2 separate regions of the Homo sapiens genome follow, and region 2 is linked to region 1. Evidence: promoter capture Hi-C in human tissues and cell types (Jung and others, 2019). All regions are on one chromosome and are shown on one strand. Each heading gives the region's core, a stretch centred on a gene start or on the middle of the fragment in contact. The rest is flanking DNA. Distances are from core to core; before and after follow the strand shown. Region 1 holds the start of KCTD4 (potassium channel tetramerization domain containing 4). Region 2 overlaps GTF2F2 (general transcription factor IIF subunit 2).

Evidence for each region. The method cuts DNA at HindIII sites, captures the fragments that hold promoters and counts their contacts. A contact is called where the count stands out against the background at its distance.
Region 2: a contact is called between a fragment that was not itself captured here and the fragment with the promoter of KCTD4 in region 1, in 3 of the 25 tissues and cell types used here (IMR-90 fibroblasts, adrenal gland and lymphoblastoid cells).

The regions. Positions count from the first base shown.
Region 1 is chr13:45,198,356-45,204,887 of GRCh38, forward strand. It overlaps KCTD4 (potassium channel tetramerization domain containing 4), which reads right to left and starts at 2,690. Exons shown (of 2, transcript NM_198404.3): 1 at 2,469-2,690. The region is part of intron 4 of GTF2F2 (general transcription factor IIF subunit 2); the gene reads left to right. The HindIII fragment of the contact is 9,631 bases long and covers 1-6,532 here.
Region 2 is chr13:45,137,590-45,144,121 of GRCh38, forward strand. The region is part of intron 2 of GTF2F2 (general transcription factor IIF subunit 2); the gene reads left to right. It also overlaps the pseudogene RNU6-69P. Among named protein-coding and RNA genes, the nearest start is that of GTF2F2, 20 kb to the left of the region's middle. The HindIII fragment of the contact is 7,918 bases long and covers 1-6,532 here.

The DNA of each region.
Region 1 (6,532 bases), core at 1,440-3,939:
GGAAGGAAGTGAAACCTTACCAGGAGGTTATCCCTCCCGACTGGAAGATACAAAAAGTATGATAATTCTCCTAGACTTAACAGATCATTCCTCTATAAAATTCAGACACTCTTCAAGGAAAAGGAATGGTTTTAGAAGCTGCGTTTGATAAGAACAGGGAGCTTCTGTCTCCACATTCTCCCCTGCTATCAAATCTTGGTTGTTGTCAGCTGCATGCTTCTCTGCTTGTCTTTTAAAAGGATTTCATTCCCATTACCTTAGAAAGAAAGTAAAAGCTAGAGAAGCTGCTGTCAACTTTTTACTTAAATCTGACAGTATATCTCTGCCTTGGACTTGCCCACATTTTTTTTTTGTTTTTTTGTTTATTGATCTGTGTTTTGACCTTCCTCTGCCTTTCACAAGCTGAGTTTCTTTTTTTTTAACATGTACTTGCTTCATTGCCTCTTGTCAATAGCACTGAATGTAAGAAACATTCATTTTGATATTGAGGTATGAATATTTTGTGTTGGCTTCTTTTGTGTGTTAAAAATAAAAATTACACTGTCTAATTATTGACATGTTTTAAGAATCAAGGATTTTCCCATGTTAATGTAATTCTTTTTGAGTGTCCAAATTTTAGTTCTATTTTGAAATATAAAATTTATCTGCTCTAAATGTTGTCTGCTACTGGTATTACACTAACAAAAGTACTATGGCAGCCACTTTATGTAACTGATTGACCACAGCATCTCACAAACTGTGCCAAGTACTTGAACCTTCCTAGGACTAATAGGACGTAACCTCTGGCCACAAGGTCGTGTGAACATGTCATTGCAGTCCAAAGAATACAGCTGTAAATATTTTGCAGTGTTGAACTGCGTCTTCAAGGAAGCCCAGGAAAATTGCCTACATTGGTAAATGTTTTAGCTTCATTTGAGGAGTATAGAAAAACATAAGGCACTATGTGTCAAAAGGAGCACAAATAAAGACAACAGACTAGCTCAGAAGTTCAGGTGAAATTCCATTCCACATTTCTTTGATTTTCACTACAGAGGCAATCTTGACAATTTATAAGTCATATTAATTCATGTTTTACATGTACTTTGGAAAATGAGTATTTCAGGGAAACCTGTGTTTTATAATTTTGTAAGCAGAAGTCATACCTTAAGTTTTTTAAAAATGAAGTTTTTTTTTGAAATATAACCTGTGCGTTATTATTTACTGGAAAATTCTATTGTAACCAGATGAGCATAGCACTTATGTAAGCCATCAAATGAACATTAAAATTATAATATTGTACAGAACTCATTTTTATAGTGCTATTTGGCAAAATGCAATTTTACTTTCTCTTTGGGAAGAAGATATTTTAAGCTAATAACCATTATCTACAATCTCAAAATGAAGGGCATAACTTTGAAAACTCTTGTAAAGGTAGTACAGTTAGGAAGTAAATGACTAAAGAGGGTCTCTGTTACCGTATACTAGCGCCTGCCACTGTTCCTTCTGATTTTCTCATCACTTAACATCTGCTTGTGTCTTCAGTGATGAGGTGGTGTGGAGAAGAGAGAAGAGGATCTGAACAGGAGAACAGGATGTGATGGCTCAAGGGAGCAAATGTGGTTTCTTACAGAGTAGGGAGGAGTTATAAACTAGGGATGGAGAACTCTATCATATCACACATTTTTTTCATATTTACCATTTCTATAACTGAGGTACATCTTAATATCGTTAGCTTGTCAAAGTTTAGCAGCAGTATTTTGTCTTGGTGGCACGTAAAATAATGGTTGCTATTACAAATGATAGCATCTTATAGTTGATGAAATATTTGAGCAGCTCTGTGAGCTATTCCCTCCGTATCACAAGAAAGTAAAATTAACAGACAGGGAGGAGGGAAAGAATTTTGCAGGGAGATGAGAGAGAGAGGGAGAGACAAAACAATGTGGCTGCTTGATGTTAAAATTAGGCAAATTATTTTATAACTTTTATAAAATTAAATTTTATTTTTTGATACAGGGTCTTGCTCTGTCACCCAGGCTGGAGTGTATTGCAACCTCAACCTCCTGGGCTCAGGTGATCTTCCTGCCTTAGGAAACTCCCGTATAGTTGGGGCCACAGGCATACCCCACCATACCTGGCTAACTTTTTTATCTTTTTGTGGAGACTGGGTCTCACTTTGTTGCCCAGGCTGGGCTCAAGCTATGCTGCTGCCTCAGCCTCCCAAAGTGTTGGGATTACAGATGTGAGCCACCATGCGTGGCAAAATTCCTGAAGATCAAATAGAGATCAGAATATTACTTCACAAGTAAAGAGCAGCTTTTTAATAATACAGGGATAGAAAGTTTGCCTAACTGGTTTGTTAAGATGCTAGTACCTTTTATTAGTAGACCTCAACTCAGAACCACAGGCAAAAAAACTTCTAGGAACATATTTTAAATGAGAAGAAAGGAGACTACTAGGAATATTAAAAATGGTTTGCCTTTTAAATGTACCTGCTTCTTGAAAAGATTATTTCTTCAGTCTTTTCCCAGAGAGTGTCGACACAGGTGTGATGTAATTAAGAGTCAGGAGAGTAAGGAGAGTAACTTCGAGGTCTGGAGGATCAGCCTGAAATGTTGGTCAGTAGTCCTCTGGTCTGGGTTTTTACAGGAGCTGGAAGTTCTCTTAAAGGCCTCCACATTCAGCTGGATCCAGAAGGTCTTGTGGAAATGAATGAGTGTAACTTCCTGATGCCTAAGACTTCCTAACATACTTGATTTCATTACTTACATGCCAATGCTAATAAGCAGTGTTGCTGCTTGCTTATTCCTTTAACTTCTTCAAACTAGGGATGCCCTTAACTTTTTAAAAAAAGTGCCAGTATCATTTCTCCTCAGTTCTTTGACATAGAGTGTATGTCAAGTTCAGATATAGGGCAGGATAATCCAGCATAGAGCACAAATTTAAATATTTTCAAGCCTTGGGCAGCTTCTTAACATTTTGTTATTCTCTTTCTATTCAAAGAAAATTTAATTATATCTAGGTCTTTTGGAAAGTACTAGAGCAAACAAAATAACACTAATGAAATAATAAAACATCCCCAGTTGGAGAGGAAGGCTAGCATTTTTATTTAGTGAAAGAGACCTAGAAGAGATCTCAGACATTCTAGTAATATCATTATTATGGATGCTGAGGCCCAGAGATGTAAAATAACTTCTCCAAAGTAACACTGCTGTTTAGTGACAGAATCTTAACTAGAAGCCTTCAGTTCTTTTTATAGGATGTGCTTTATATACATAACCTTTAAAATTTTCTCTCGAGTTTTTTCTGATTTTAGGTGGTGGGATATACATAAATTACCATCATCAAAGATGTGTGTTCATACTCAATAAGATTCTTTTGGTTGCAAGTAGCAGAAACCAGTCAACAAACCAATCTAGCCAAAAAAGGAGTGCGGGGGAGAATTTAGAAAGAATCCCATACTATTTCCCAGAATCCAAAGAAGAGCAAATGGCCAAGGAAAAGATATGAATTGAGCCATTCCAAAGCCTTTGGTAGGATGAGTTTGTGTGGCTTCTCTGCAGAGTGCTGGCAAGACCATGTCCTTCTAGTAATTGGTGGTGTGAGCCCCTTAGTTGAACATTTCAAGCACAAGAGCGAGCAAGCACAGACACACAGAGGCCATTCCTACCACCTTCAGTACTCTTCCTTCTTACCCCCACCCACCCCAGTCTAAATCCTACCCATTTTTCAAGGTCCAGCACAATCATTGCTTATTCTTCAAAACTCTTCTTGGCCTGGCGTGGTGGCTCACACCTGTAATCCTAGCACTTTGGGAGGCTGAGGTGGGCGGATCACCAGAGGTCAGGAGTTCAAGACCAGCCTGGCCAACATGGCAAAACCCCATCTCCACTAAAAATACAAAAATTAGCCTGGCGCAGTGGCACATACCTGTAATCCCAGCTACCCAGGAGGCAGAGGCAGGAGAATCGCTTGAACCCAGGAGGCGGAGGTTGCGGTGAGCCAAGATCGCGCCACTGCACTCCAGTCTAGGCAACAGAGCGAGACTCCATCTCAAAACAAAACAAAACAAAAAACTCTTCTTGATCTCTAGCTAGACATCTGAGTGGGTGTGTGTGTGTGTGCAAGTACATGTGTGTTTAATCCCAGTACTCTTGTATGTTTCTATTTTATGACCTTTAACATATTCAACTTGACAGAAGAATCCTACAGCACATATGGAATAACCAGTAATTGGTCAGTTACATTAAAAGATGGGAAATCATAAAAATGATATCAATATGCAGTTCCTATCTGCCTTAAACATTTTATCTTAAAACTTATAAATGTACGTTTAGTTGGCTGGGCACGGTGGCTCACGCCTGTAATCCCAGCACTTTGGGAGGCCGAGGTGGGCAGATCACGTGAGGTCAGGGGTTCAAGACCTGCCTGGTTACCATGGTGAAACCCTGGCTGTACTAAAAATACAAAAATTAGCTGGGCATGGTGGCGCACGCCTGTAATCCCAGCACCTCAGGTGGCTGAGGCATGAGAATTGCTTGAACCTGGGAGGCGGAGGTTTCAGTGAGTTGAGATTGCACCACTGTACTCCAGCTACTCCAGCCTGGGTGACAGAGTGAGACATCATCTCAGAAATAAAATAAAATAAAATAAATGTACATTTAGTTGCTGATGTATATGTAAGACAAGGCCTTTGCTTTGAATATAGGATACTGACTGACCATCTGTTTTCTTTGTTTTTCAAAAATTAAACCCATCATTTAGTTTTTCAGTCTCATTCTGTCGCCCAGGCTGGAGTGCAGTGATGTGATCTCAGCTCATTGCAACCTCTACCTACAGAGTTCAAACAATTCTCATGCCTTAGCCTCCCAAATAGCTAGGACTACAGGCATGCACCACCACGCCCACCTTTTTTTTTTTTTTTTGGATTTTTAGTAGAGAGACGGTTTCCTTGTGTTGCCTGGGCTAGTCTCAAACTCCTGGCCTCAAGTGATCTGCCCTCCTCGGCTTCCCAAAGTTCTGGGATTACAGGCGTGAGCCACTGCACCTGGCCCCATGATTTAGTTTAGATTTTCGATTTTGGTTTCTTTGAAAAGGAGCAAGAACTTAGACACTGTGAAACTATCTAAATGCAGACTCTTTCTAGACTCCTGTGCTTCCCTTTCAGTCTCCAGTTGTCTCACCTGTACCTAATTTGACAGTATTGTGTTACAACTTAACTTTATATCATCTTACCAAAGCATTCTACATAGTTTTTATAGAAACACCCCCCAAACTCCCCTCATACTTGCAATTTAATGGGCTTCTGTAATATATAATCAGATTACATAATTATTAAAACTAATATAGACAAGTTCTAGCATCGTTTGAGCAGACGTGTGTGGGAGTACTAGAGATTAACCTATTACCCACTAGTATATAGTGACTGTGGGCATCTGTCGCTATATTTAATAGCAGGCAGTTGAGAGCCTTTGTTAATCTAGAGGTGAGTTAAGTAGAGGTGTATCAAAAGTGCTTCTGGTGTATTAAGATGATTTATGTACCTGTCTTATCCTACGAGACCAGCAGCTCTCGAAATGTGGTCTGGGAACCACTGGGCAGAGGGGTCCCCGAGATCCTTTCAAGGGATCAATGATGTCAAGACCATTTCTATAATAATGCTAATGGCTTTTTTTTATTTTTTCACTCTCATTCTCTAGAAATTTCTTAATTTTAGTTTCTAATATGGTAGATATCAGCAGTTAAAACTTATAAACAGGTTTTTTGGGAGTCTATACATTTTTCCTTTTAAAAACATTTAAATTTAGGTTTTTTAAGCTTATTTTTAATTGACAAGTAAAATTTGTGTATATTTATGGTATATAACGTGATGTTTTGATATATGTATATGTGTGGAATGGCTAAATCAAGCTATTCATATCTATACTTTTTAACTAATACATGCCACAGAACGTTTAAGAAAGTCTACGCTCCTTGAGGGTAGGAGCCGTGTTTCATTTGTTATTCCTGATGTGCTCTTGCATTGTCTTTTACATAGTAGGCACTCAGTAAATAGTTAAGAAATGTGTGAGAATAAAATGAATTATTTTTCAAGTATTTATGGTCTTTTAAACTGGGTCAACAAACTAGCTTTAAGTAAAGGTTTCTATATTAATGAATAGGATCTATAATTAACAGCAGTAATGTGCAAGTGGGTGCTTTTAAATACTTTTAAAATAAAATTTAATACCTTTCCTTTGAAATCTTAAGCAGTATTTTGAAAAAGACAAGAAGTGTGGTTTAGTGGAAAGAATATGAGAATGTGTTCCTATGAGGCTTTAAAAAGAGAGCAGGCAAATCATGCCTAGGGGGCTGCATCAGGAGTAAATTGGCCTTTTAAAAATGTATTTAAGAAGAGAAGGGGAGAAAGGAAGTGAACAGAGATGTCAGGTTACTTAGGAACATCCAGTGGATGGGAAAATTCGTTGCTGATGAAGACTTTTCCATTCACTTTGAGTAGCATTTGGAAGCTATTTTAGGTTTGAAAAGAAGATATGATAGAAAATTATGGTTTGAG
Region 2 (6,532 bases), core at 1,937-4,436, 60 kb before region 1:
GTTGAGTTGACATTAGCAGGGGCAACAGCTATTTATTTCATCTCTAGCAAGCTCATTCACATGATGGTGAAAGAGTTCTAGTAGGAAAAGAGGAAGCCCCAGTGCACAAGCACTTTGAAAGCCTGTGCTTGTGTCACATTTGCTAAAGTCCTTTTGACCAAAGCAGCTCACATGGCCAAGCCCAGATTCAGTTATGGGAAAACAGACTCCACCTTTTGATGGAAGCTGCTGCAAAAAAAACTTGTGTTCCTTATTTATTTATTTATTTATTTCAAAATATGGAATACTTCCTAATTCGCATGTCATCCTTGTGCAGGGGCCATGCTCATCTTCTCTGTATTGTTCCAATTTTAGTATATGCTGCTGAGGCGAGCACATGTTCCTTTTCATAATCGGCCACGTCCACATTCCTAAATCCAAGAGTCAACTAGCAGCTCTCTTACTTGAACTTCGGTGGAATTTGACATAGTTGATCACTTTTTTCCTGAGACTTTTTTTTCCCCACTTTACTCTAGGACACATCTCTTCTCCTCTCGCCTCATTGGCTGTTCCTTCTTAGTTTCTTGCTAAGCCCCTTCTCATCTTCTGTCTCTAAATGTTATGTGACCCCAGGACTCAGTCCTTAGTTCTTTCCTTTTCTCTCTTTTCACTTCCTGGGTGTTCTCATTTGGTCTCATGGCTTTAAGTACCAGGTGGTATTTAAATATACAGTTCAGGATGCTTCTGCCCTCCGTGGAGGCACCGTGCTCAGGAAGGTCCTTATTTTCTTTGTGTTCCATGCCCTGGCTGTGACTTTCTCCACACTACTCCCAGAATCAACCACTGACCTACTAGAATTGACCGCTGATCTAGAGTTAACCACAGACCAAGATTTAACCATTAACCTAGACTTGACCACGGACCTAGAGCCAACCACAGAACACGCAGGCTCTGGAATTCTTTACTGATGTGGAGTCAGCCAACTCTAGCTTTGTGGAAGAAGCTGCTGAGGCCACAGCTGATTATAATCCATTTCAGAGAACTTGTGAGTGACGATTATGATGTGAGTGAAGATCAGTATTATTATTATTTTTCGAGACAATGTCTCACTCTGTTGCCCTTGCTGGAGTGCTGTGGCGTGATCTCAGCTCACTGTATCCTCTGCCTCCCGGGTTCAAGCGATTCTCCTGCCTTAGCTTCCTGAGTAGCTGGGCTTATAGATGTGCGCCAGCATACCTGACTAATTTTTGTATTTTTAGTAGAGACGGGGTTTCGCCATGTTGGCCAAGCTGGTCTTGAACTCCTGACCTCAAGTGAGCCACCTGCTTTGGCCTCCTAAAGTGCTGGGATTACAGGCGGTAGCCACTGTGCCCGGCCGCGAGTGAAGATTATTATGAATGCTGTTTATTCCAAAGAGCCCATCATTAGAGTGACAGACAAGCTTAGCAGATTCACAGGAAGCAATGAGTCCATCTCAGCGCATGTTAAAGCAAATTTTTAGTTAGCTGTGACTATGACTGTTATCCACTACTTTCTAAGAAGATTCTGAGCTTTAAGACAAGCCTGTTACTCCACTATAGGAGATTGCATAATGGTAGAAAACTAGTGAAATGTAGGATGTACCCAGCTGAGGAGAAACAGCAAGACATTGATCCTGGGTTGGGTGATGTGAATTGTGCATGGATGGGGCAGGGGCATTTCTTAGCTGTGTCTCATTTAATATGGGCTCAATAAATGTTCATTTCAACTGAAAATAAGTAAAAATCAAAAAATGTATTTACACACCTCTCTCTCTGTCCACGCTCGTAATTCTGACTGTGTTGTTGATGTTTGGACTGTGTCCTCGGATGTCCTCGGATGTTTCAGAAGCATCTCAAACTTAATAATTGCTATTCTTCTGTTTTTTCTCTCTGTAACACTCTTCCTTTAGATAATCCCCATGCCTTACTCCCACATTTCTTTTCGGTCTCTGTTCACAATTTCAGCTCATTGAGGTATTTTCTGGCCACCATATGTAAAATAGCACCCTGCAGGCTCTATCTCCCTTACCCTCTTATTATTCACTGTTCTTTTGTGTTGTTATTTATTCTCCTTCTACTATACCCATCTGACATACTGTATATTTGTTTATGTGTTGTTCATATCGCCTACTAAAGTATAAACTCTACCAGGTCAGGATTTTTGTCTTGATGATTACTATATCTCCATTGTCTAGAACAATGCTTGGCATAGTAGACACTGTGTTCTAAAGTTAGGTGGGGACAAGTACAGTTGTCCCTCAGTACCTGCAGGAGATTGGTGTCTGGCATGCCCCATCTCCCATACCAAAATCTACCATGCTCAAGTCCTTTATATAAAATGGCACAGTATTTACGTATAACCTACACACATCCTTCTGTATACTTTAAAGCATCTCTAGATTACTTATAACTAATACAGTGTAAAAACTATGTAAATAGTTGTTACTATTTGTTTTTCTCTTTTTTTTGAAACAGGGTCTCACTCTGTTCCCAGGACTACAGGCAAGCACTGCCATGCCCAGCTAATTTTTTTTTTTTTTTTCTCGTAGAGGCAGAGTCTCCCTGTGTTGCCTTGGTTGGTCTCAAACTCCTGGGCTTAAGGGATCCTCCCTCCTCAGCCCCTAAAGTGTGGGTGTTACAGGCATGAACCACCATGCCCAGCCGATGTTTAAAATATTTTCAGTCTGCAGTTGGTTGACTCCACGAATATTGACCACTCAGATATAGGGGGCCAACTGTAATATCTCGTTTTCTCAAGGAATGATTGAGTATATGTTCATAGTGGAGTCAGGCTTGTATTCTGGCCTTTTATTGGTCAGAAAACTCCAGCATGTCCTAGTTCTAACTCAATCATTTACTATGAGTGAGACTTTGTACAAGTCACTGAATCTTCTGACTTTAGATTTCTTATCCTAAAAGTTGCCTTTTTGCAGGGCTTTTATATGAATCCATTAAGATAATATGGAAATAGTTATTTATTTGTATATTTAAGTTTATAAGATGAACATATTCCTGGAAAGTTGTAGATGTGTCACATTTTTATGAGTTGTCATACTTTTATTGAAAGAGAAAAATAATATTGAAATGTACAGGTTTTTTTTCCCTCAATGTGAAGTTCTTTGTAATGTACATAATTAGCTACTGTTCTGTAATGAACTTCAGAGTTTTTTATATTAGGTTTTACTGAAATGGGAGCCACAACCAAGATAAAATCTCAGGAATGTATGTCACTGAAGAAAGGCAGGCTAAAGGAGAGAGTACTTAGATGATGAACCTCATGGTATTGTGGAGTGCCTTCACAATACAGCTCAAGACCTGGCTTCTAGTCCTGAATGGCTGTTGATAGTTGTTTGGCTTTGGGCCTTACACTTCTTGTTTGTAAAATGTGGATAATAATGCCTTCCCAACCCATAGGATGTTTATAAAACATTAAATAGCTTAGCATTTGTTAAAATATTTGTAAACTCAAATGTTCTCCTTCCATGTAATATTCATGTCCCATGAATAATACATTCCTGAAAACCTCTATGTAAAGAAAATACCTGGTTCAGAAATATAGTATCTCTTTTTGGGAGGAGGGGGAAAATATTACAGGAAAAAGAGTGAAAGGAAACAAGGCTGAGAGAAACCCATGTAAATCTCAAGTACCACTTTGATCACTAAAGTAAAATATTAAAGATAGCATGCTAAATAAGCAATAATGGGCATGCTGCAATTTTTCCTTATGAATCCTTGCTTGGTAGAAAATCTCAAGGTCTTTTTCTTTCTTAGTTTAAAGCAGATGGTCCACATAGTTGCTAATCCACATAGGGTGGCTAAACCTCCAGGTTTGCCTGGAACCCTCCCAGTTTATGTGTTTCCCTATGCAATTATTAATAGTGCCCCCTTTTCCACTCTCCAGGGTGTCCTGGTTTTGATAATATAGTTGTCCTAAGTGTTAGCAGATGTGTGTGTAGGGGTAGGGGTGAAGACGGTGGGTAGTTATTCTATGCATTACTAGGCTGATTTATGAGCTGGCATTGTTTGATTTCTCTAGGGATCCAACCAAAGTTCCTTACAAATACTGTGTGTGTGTGTTTTAGTGTATAAGTAATACCTACTTTCTTGTTTTTTTTCCTTTAAAATTTTTACAAAATGAAAAGGTCTCTGTTTTCCCCATTCACATGCTTTAGAGGTGGCCATGGGTAACTGCTTGGTATGTAAGCCTCCAGATTACTCTCCATACAAATCATTTTGGGTGTTTAATACGGACAAAGTTTTAAAACATTGTTATGTTTTAAATCCACTAACCAGAGCAAGGTATTTTTCTAACCCCTTTAGGCTTAGTTTTGCTAACTTCAGAACATAGCACAGAAGTCTGATTTTGCTTTCCTTGTTGTTCTCTCTTGTATGTAGTTCTGAGGCTTTGGTTTACTTTGTTGCATCTTGATCTCTTCCCTAGAGTACATGGCCAGTACTTACATTCCTTGTTTTTCTCACTTTAGTCTTGAATTCTTTTGAAAGTAAAACCTCAGTAGAAGTGAGTTGAAATTATTTTATTCAAATCAGTTTCCTCAACCACAGTTGAAGAAAAAGTAAGCCCACCATTTTGTTTTTGAGATGGAGTCTGGCTCTGTTGCCCAGGCTGGAGCGCAGTGGCGTGATCTCGGCTCACTGCAACCTCCGCCTCCTGAGTTCAAGCAATTCTCGTGCCTCAGCCTCCTGAGTAGCTGGGATTATAGGCGCCTGCCACCATGCCCAGCTAATTTTTTTTATTTTTAGTAGAGACAGGGTTTCACCATGTTGGCCAGGCTGGTCTTGAACTCCTGACCTCAAGTGATCTGCCTGCCTTGGCCTCCCAAAGTGCTAGGATTACAGGCGTGAGCCACCACGTCTGGCCCTCAGAATTTCTTAAAAGGGAATCTAGTGGTTTTTACCTATGCCAATATCAGAGACAAATAAGGAGCAAATTGTGTGTGTTTGCATGTTTTATATGTAGGCAACAGGTCTAGCAGATTTTCTACCTAACGTAACACATAATCAGTCTTGTAGAAGATCTAGATACTTTTAGTGATGAGAACAGACTTATAGTAATTAGTACCCTAAGACTGCTATGAAAATGCTTGAAAACAGCTTGTTGCCTAGTTGGTCTCCTGGCTGTATTCTCCAGGCTGTCTTGTTTACTTTACTAATTTACTTAGTTTTCATTGCTGTTACTGAATTAACTAAATTCACTGTTAAACAAGTGTAGGATGGGTGGGGAATGTCTTACAGTGCATGTGACTAGGTTATCAGGATTTTAGTTGATTTTGAGCTTAATATGAGTCATCAAATTTATGAGCCGATAAACAAAAGGCTCCATTGATAGATGTCTGTTGTTTAGAATGAAGTGGAATGATAATCCTCCTCCTTACTTTGCCAGTCAGCTCACAGTGAAAACATTATGTTCAGTTCTTAGTGCTGCACTTAAAGAGAGACATGGATGAATAAGATCATTCAGTGGAGTGAGACTAGGATAATCAGAAAGCTGGAAAAAAAAATTAATGTCTTATAAGGAACATTTGAAAGTCTAGGGCTGTTAAGAGAAGATGTAGGGCAGACCAGGTAAACTGTACTCACAGATGTAGAATCAACTACTGATTCCTAGAGGCAGATTAACCTCTAAGTATGTAGGTTTATAGGTTATAGGTTATAGGTTACCTGTGGTTTAAAAAAATGTGTATTTGGGTACAAAATGAAAACAACTAAGATTTTAGAAAGGCAGTGTGGCATACTGGTTATGAGTATGGACCTGGGAATTAGCCTGAGGTTTAGTCCTTACCCTATCACTTACTAGCTATGTGACTTTGCGTAAATTGTTTACTCTGTTTCCTCATCTGAGGAGATGATATTAATACCTCATAGGTTCAAATGCATGTAAAATACGTAGTTAATAAGAGTTCTCCTGCTGTTGTAACCACGCATACTACACAGGCCAGATAGTAGATACTGCATTGTGTCTAATGTGGTGTGGGAGGACCTTCCCTCCCTACCACATCTTCCGAAGCTCAGCAGCAGCTTGCTGTGTGTCGCAGGCCAGAAACTAGGAGATCTGTATGGCGTGGCTGCTTATTCCAGAAGACAGGGCTGTGGGTGGAGAGATTGGGAGAGGCAGAGAGGAGGGAAAAGACGTGCAGCCTGGAATGCAGCTCTTCCTGAATTTGGTTCTGTCTTAATACTCGAAAAAAGGAGAGTCCAGTTGTGAATAAGATGAGAGTAACAGCTTGTTCTGACAGTTGGTAACATTTGGACCATTTTTATCAAGCAATTTATATGATATTTCTAAACCAATGTACCTGGATTATTTTTGTATCTTTGGACATCTGATGTGTGCCACATTTTAATTAGTTTATAGTTTTGCTGGTCTGGGCATGGTGGCTCACACCTGTAATCCTAACACTTTGGGAGGCTGAGGCAGGTGGATCACCTGAGGTCAGGAGTTCGAGACCAGCCTGGCCAACGTGGTGAAACCCCGTCTCTACTAAAAATACAAAAATTAGCCAGATGTGTTGGTG